Linked DNA regions of Homo sapiens: region 2 is linked to region 1. The links are contacts of gene promoters, found by promoter capture Hi-C in human tissues and cell types (Jung and others, 2019). All regions are on one chromosome and are shown on one strand. Each heading gives the region's core, a stretch centred on a gene start or on the middle of the fragment in contact. The rest is flanking DNA. Distances are from core to core; before and after follow the strand shown.

Region 1 (3,477 bases), core at 978-3,477:
CCTCCGCCTCCCGGATTCAAGCGATTCTCTTGCCTCAGCCACCCGAGTAGCTGGGATTATAGGCATGCGTCACCACGCCCGGCTAATTTTGTGTTTTTAGTAGAGATAGTGTTTCTCCATGTTGGTCAGGCTGGTCTCGAACTCTTGAACTCAGGCGATTCGCCTGCCTCGGCCTCCCAGAGTACTGGGCCTTAAATGCTGGAATTATAGGCATGAGCCACCGCGCCCAGCTGAGAACTCTTCTTGTTATCAAATGACCCTCTTTACTACTGGTTCTAGAATTTCGTTCAGCTTTGGCTCAAAACATAATGCAGAAAACGAAATCTAGTAAAAACAGAAGACAAATTAGCTGATAAACTTTGTTGGCATAATTAGTACCATAAAATCTGGAAAAGCTAAATCTTAAATTAAAAATTTTTTAGATTTCCAGGATAATTCACAAATGTTTATAGATTCAGAAACAAAAGGTCCATTGCTTTATACTTTACATCATAGACAACCACTGCAGTTTTCTAATATGGGTTTCACCTTCTTCAAACCTGATATTCTTAAAATGTGGAGTTCAAACTGACTATAGTTAAGAACGAAACAAATAGCCAATACAAAGAATAATAAAAGGATGAGTTCAAATTATCTGCCACATGTCATCAACTTTTATTAAATGATAAAAAGGTTAATTAAAATTGTAAATGATTTTTCAGAAGAAATTACATCTTAAAATTGGCCTGTGAAAGTGGCTTGAAAGGTATAAAAATCTACCAGTAGCTGGTATTAGCTTTCTTAGTAATTTAATTTTCAGTTAGAGAAAGCCAGACCACTTTGACCTTTCGAAGTCCTTTGGTATAGATACATATACATTTAAAAAGATAAATGAAAACAAGCCATTGATTAATAATGCCCATCGCAGAAGCTGTAATTATAAAATTAAGATTTTTTGATGTCACTGTTGATGTTGAATATAGTTAATAGAAAAGCAAAAATAAAAAATAAAAAAGGTCTAATTTTGAGGCACTCTTTTGTCTCTGCTCAGGTCCACCGTCTTCCTTGCTAATGTTTACGTTTATTATTAATTTTTCCATTTATTTATTTACTTTTACCACAATTAGGGGACAGAGAATGAAACCTAAACTTTTTATTGCTTCTGTAAAGAGTGAATATAAATGTAAGATTTTTTTTTTTTGAGACGGAGTTTTGCTCTTGTTGCCCAGGCTGCAGTTCAGTGGCGCAATCTCGGCTCACTGCAACCTCTGCCTCCCAGGTTCAAGCAATTCTGCTGTCTCAGCCTCCCAAGTAGCTGGGATTACAGGCCCGCGCCACCTCTCCTGGCTAATTTTTTGTATTTAGTAGAGACGGAGTTTCACCATGTAGGTCAGGCTGGTCTCGAACTCCTGACCTCAGGTGATCCACCCGCTTCGGCCTCCCAAATTGCTGGGATTACAGGCGTTGAGCCCCGGCGCCCGGCCACCAAATCCTTTTTCAAAACAACTCCCTTCTTTGACACAGTGCAATTTAAATAAGTATACAATTAACAAAGTACGTTTTTCTTGTTCAAAACCATCACTGAACAGTTTGCAACAGTAGGGTATGAATGCATACAATCTCGATGGTCTTTACACCTTCAGAGGCTATTCGGACTTAAGGAAACGTGCATTTACAAGTGTAAATGTAAAAGCTCAGTAGTTGCCTTGTAAAGTGCTTTTCGGGGTTGTGGGGTTGGGGGTGGTAGGAGTAGGTGGTGCCTCAAATTATACTAGCGAATACCAACATTCCCAAACATCTAGCCCTCTGCCTAAACTCACCCGGTTGCGGTCTGTCATTTTCGCTCTTCTTTGTTAATTTTTTCGGCAAAGTCAGTTTTCATGCAGCAGATGGCAAGAAAGCCGGTGAACGCCTAGGGACGTGGCCTTTTAACCGCACCCAATTAAAGCAGCAAACAGAAGATGAATAGCTGGGTGGATCAGTATGTGTAAACCTATCCGTTTAATCCGGGGAGCTGTTTTCCCGGGTGAAACCACGAATTCTTTCTGGAGGTTGCAACTCGTAACCATAGCAACTGGAAGTGGTCGCCGGCTCCCGGATGTTGTGGGGATCTGCGGCCGCCTGGCCCAGCTTCCCGCAGCCGCCCGGCGGCGGCCTGCGCTCCACTTCGGGAGTGGTAGTTCTTCTCTTCACCGCTGCCGGGCAGGAGGCGCAGGCGGGACTACGCGTCACGGCATGCACTGCGGCGCCCAGCCGGTCACCGCCTGCCGGCTGCAGACGCCTGCGAGCAGGTTGTTTTTATAAGAGGCGTCATTGGCGCCCGAGCTGTGACCGCCGCCACTGGGGCAGCCAGCACAATCGGGCGGAGGTGGCGCTGCCCCTTCAGGTACTGTACTAGGCGGGCTTAGACCCCGGGAGGGGGTTTGTGCCGACTGTCTGAGTCCCTGGCCGACACGCTCGGCTCAGTAGAGGAGCAGTGGCGGGGTCCGCCTCCTAGGCTGGGGCTGCTCGGGCGGGGACTTGACGCCTGGTGTCAGCGGCCGCACGGGCGACCTCCTCGGGCCGTGCGCGAGTGCACAGCTCCGGAGGCCCGAGCCGACCCTGGGGCGTCCGGTCCGGTGGTCTTGCAGCCTCCAAACCCCGAGTGCTATACCGAACTGCGCGCCAAGGGTGGGAGAGCTGACGGCCTGGGCCACCCTTCTTCCTTCACTGGGCAGGCTTTGAGGTGCTTGTCGGTCTGGACTGATGAAAATCCATATGGTAAGATGTTATGTGCGTCACCCTGCCGGGTTTAATGCCAGCCTGTCTTTTGATGACATTTGAGCCCCCGTGATGTCAGGAATAGAAAGATTAAATATTAAATAATGCCCGGAGACTTCCGCTAGCACGCCAGCCTGATGATGATCAAATACCTCTCCATATCCTTCTCCAGTTCCAGTGGCCTCCTTTAGCTTTGGTCTCCCTAATCGATTTGTCCTCATTAGCAGCTGTCCCATGCAGTGCCTTGTACGCGTTGTTTATGTTTAGCACTATTGGGAGCGCCAAGTAAGGTATTTTATTGAGTGGTGAAGTTTGCACTGTTCTGCTCTACTTTTATTGAAAAACACAGTTGGGCATTCTTGTAGTTAGAATAGCTAACTATATAGTACTATGAATTTTAGATTTGTCTCCTCCAATCTACAGGATAGTGCTTGAAATATCGCTATTACTGCATCGTATCTTTTAAGATTAGAATCATATTGGGTCCCACACGTCTCAGGGGATATTTATCACACACATCCAGTGTGAATGGTTTACTTTTATTTTCTGAGTTCAGGTCATATAGCAGAAGATGGAGATGGTGAGGGTATTATTTTAATTCATATTTTTTTTTTTTTTGAGAGAGGGTTTCGCTCTTGTTGCCCAGGCTGGAGTGCAGTGGCGCGATCTCGGCTCACTGCAACCTCTGCCTTCCAGTTTCAAACGATTCTCCTGCCTCAGCCTCCCGAGTATCTGGGA
Region 2 (3,477 bases), core at 607-3,106, 390 kb before region 1:
TGCCTCAGCCTCCCGAGTAGCTAGGACTACAGGCACCCGTCACCACACCCAGCTAATTTTTTGTATTTTTAGTAGAGACAGGGTTTCAATGTGTTAGCCAGGATGGTCTCGATCTCCTGACCTTGTGATCCGCCTGCCTCGGTCTCCCAAAGTGCTGGGATTACAGGGGTGAGCCACTGTGCCCAGCCATGTTATCTCATTTCTTAGATGAGGATACAGGTTCAGAGTACCTTGTCCTGAGTCACACTGCTTCTAGGTAATGGAAAGATAACTGAAATCTAGCTCTGTCTGATCCAAACCCTGGTTTTTTTTGTTTTTGTTTTTAAATTCCATGTGAGTTGAAGTTGAGTGCTGCAGAAATGTAAAATGTTGTTAATCATTTCTACAACATTTGCTGTGTGCGAGACACTGTGTTAAGTTTGGGGGTGGGGGTGCTGAATGGGGTGGGTAGAGAGAGAGTGACTGCCTGCACCTAGAGAAATGAATTGGGAAAACAGGTGCTGGGGATGTGCCAAAGGAAGCAACAATGGCACCCAAGGATGATTCACAATGTGGGGCCTGAGGTGAAAAAGGAGCAGGCAGTGTTGTTCCTAGGGTTGGATCTATGCCAGAAGATTATTGCAGATGAAACTCAGAGCAGCCTGAAGTAGGGGAAGGTAATTCTCCCTCTCTCATGCTGCACAGCTCAAAACTTTGTGAAAAGTTCAGGTAAACATTGGCTGAGAAGACTGCAAAACATTGCGATGTAGACCAGCTGGAGTGAATTTTACACCCGGTGAATGTTTTCTTGGCCACATTCTCTCCAAGCAGTGGAGTTCTCGAGAGCATGTCTTTGGCAGTGGGACCTGGCTTCACATCTCAGTTTCCACCTACTTGCTATGTGACCTTGCATCTCAGTGTCCTTACCTAGCAATAACTGCTGCATAGGATTATTGTAAGGATGGAATAAGATCATTTACAAGATGTGTGGAGCACAATGCTGGCATGATTTAAACATTATACACATATGTCCTCTAGGATTTTACATTCTTAGTTATCCATCCCCCCTGGCATTTTCAAACTATCTCTAACTTCCTCCCTTCAGCCTGAAACCATGTCCTGGTCTCTCTTACTTTATTTTTATTTTTTCATTTTTTTGAGACAGAGTTTCACTCTTGTTGCCCGGGCTTGAGTGCAATGGCACGATCTTAGCTCACTGCAACCTCTGCCTCCTGGGTTCAAGTAGTTCTACCTCAGCCTCTCAAGTAGCTGGGATTATAGGCATGCGCCACCACACCTGGCTAATTTTGTATTTTTAGTAGAGACAGGGTTTCACCACGTAGCCCAGGCTGATCTCTAACTCCTGCTGGTCTTACTTAAAAACAAACAAACAAACAAACAAAAAACTCCCCTCAACCTATTTGTGGAGCCACCCTCCCAGTTCTGCTCATGGAACTTCCAATCCTCTCAAAAGAGGATTCACAGGTTGCCAATTCCAAAGAGTAGGGACCATGTCTGTTTTGTATATTTCAGTATCTCCAGTGCCTAGCCTAGTGCTTGGCATAATCATAGTTGACATTCAATTATTTGTTGAATAAATGACTGTCTCCATTTCCTCATCATACTTTCCCAATTTTTGTCCTTGCAGTCTGGCTTCTGCTCTTACCACTCTTTCAAAGTTGCATTCCCACACAACCTCTAACTTGATCACCAAAGCTGGAGGCTGTTTCTCCATTCTCTTCTCTCAGAATTCTATATAGTCAATGCAATTCTTTAAAACAGGATTCCACTGTGCAGTATTTGGTAAACTCAAATGTACTCCAAGGGATATAGACAAGGTTAGATTCTCCAGTTGCTTAGTTATCTACTTAGTTAGTAGTATCCTTTGAAGTCTTTCGGGGTCACTTCTCTTTGATGGGGGTGAGTGGCATAAGACAGTGAACATCCTGGGAGGTACCTTCCCTGATCTAGACAGCTGGAAACAATCTCTCCCTCCTCTGACATGCTTTACTAAGCTTTGTCTATACTTCTCCAATGAAACTATTTCTTCCCACTTCAAGTAATGGTTATTTATAGCCCTGTCTGTGTCACACCTAACCCACCCTGTGTATGCCCTTTGAGGGCAGGAAGCAGGCTTTTCCTCATCCTCCCCTTCTAGCTCAGCCTCTGGCACATGCAAAAGGCCTTACAAATGGACCAACTGAAAGAACTAATAGTGGAAAGAAGAAAATACCTTGAGTAGTCATGGAGTTCCTGCCCACAGAGAGTTTTAGAACAGCCTCTCTCATTTGTGTTAAAATTGGTAAAGCCCTGCAATGGACTAGCCCTGGCCTGGATAGAGTAGGAAGGATAAAACAGAGACTAACCCTGGGAGCACAGTCCTTACTTATAGTCCAATTGGGACAACCAGGGGTGCATGCAAAAAGGAAGCAGCAATTCAAAAATGCGAGAAAAAATGCAAGAAATATCATGAGCAACATGTAAGGAACAAACACCTATTCAAATTAATATTCATTGGGTAGTATTATATCTATGTGCCAGCAGTGCATTATAGGACTAAAAGGAGCTAAGAGGAAAATCCCTCAGGTTGCAGGGATGAGGGGTGGTTTCAAAAAAGGGGCTAAAAAGTATGCTGAATACTGTTGATTCTTTGGTTTAATTTGCCAGAGAACTAGGTAGGTATGTCGTTGCATTAAGTCCAGTCTACAGACTGCAGGCACTGAGCACAGCCCTCTTTAAAGCCCAGATGTTTCCAATGCAATAGAGTGATTAAAAGTCTTGTTCTAGGTCAGTAAGACTTGGGTTTGAGTCCTGACTCTATCCCTGTGATTTTGGCAGATCACCCTGATGCAAGAGGTGGGTTCCCATGGTCTTGGGCAGCTCCACCCTTATGGCTCTACAGGGTACAGCCTCCTTCCCACCTGCTTTCACAGGCTGGCGCTGAGTGTCTGTGGCTTTTCCAGGTTCACGGTGCAAGCTGTCAGTGGATCTACCATTCTGGAGTCTGGCGGATGGTGGCCTGCTTCTCACAGCCCTACTAGGCAGTGGCCCAGTAGAGACTCTGCATGGTGGCTCTGACCCCACATTTCCCTTCCACATTGCCTTAGTAGAGGTTCTCCACGAGGGCCCCACCCCTGCAGCAAACTTCTGCCTGGGCATCCAGGCATTTCCATACATCTTCTGAAATCTAGGCAGAGGTTCCCAAACCCCAGTTCTTGACTTCTGTGCACTCGCAGACTCAATGGCACATGGACGCTGCCAAGGCTTGGGGCTTGCACACTCTGAAGCTACAGGCTGAGCTCTAAGTTGGCCCCTTTCAGCCATGGCTGGAGCAGCTGGGACACAGGGCACCAAGTCCCTAGACTGCACACAGCACAGGGACCCTGGGCCTAGCCAGTCTCTTTGCCAAAACATAACAAGAGTCGCCTTTGCTTCAGTTCTCAAAAAGTTACTAATCTCCATCTGAGACCACTTCAGCCTGGACCTTATTGTCCATAT

What was found. Contacts are between HindIII fragments. The study calls those that stand out against the background at their distance.
Region 2: a contact is called between a fragment that was not itself captured here and the fragment with the promoter of CCPG1 in region 1, in 1 of the 25 tissues and cell types used here (mesendoderm cells).

The regions. Positions count from the first base shown.
Region 1 is chr15:55,407,109-55,410,585 of GRCh38, reverse strand. CCPG1 (cell cycle progression 1) reads left to right here and starts at 2,227. Exons shown (of 9, transcript NM_001204450.2): 1 at 2,227-2,365. It overlaps PIERCE2 (piercer of microtubule wall 2), which reads right to left and starts at 2,091. Exons shown (of 2, transcript NM_001198784.2): 1 at 1,800-2,091. The coding sequence starts at 1,817. The region is part of intron 8 of DNAAF4-CCPG1 (DNAAF4-CCPG1 readthrough (NMD candidate)); the gene reads left to right. RefSeq lists enhancers at 1,848-2,047, 2,098-2,367, 2,728-3,007. The HindIII fragment of the contact is 18,708 bases long and covers 1-3,477 here.
Region 2 is chr15:55,793,855-55,797,331 of GRCh38, reverse strand. No RefSeq gene overlaps it. Among named protein-coding and RNA genes, the nearest start is that of PRTG, 52 kb to the right of the region's middle. The HindIII fragment of the contact is 6,112 bases long and covers 1-3,477 here.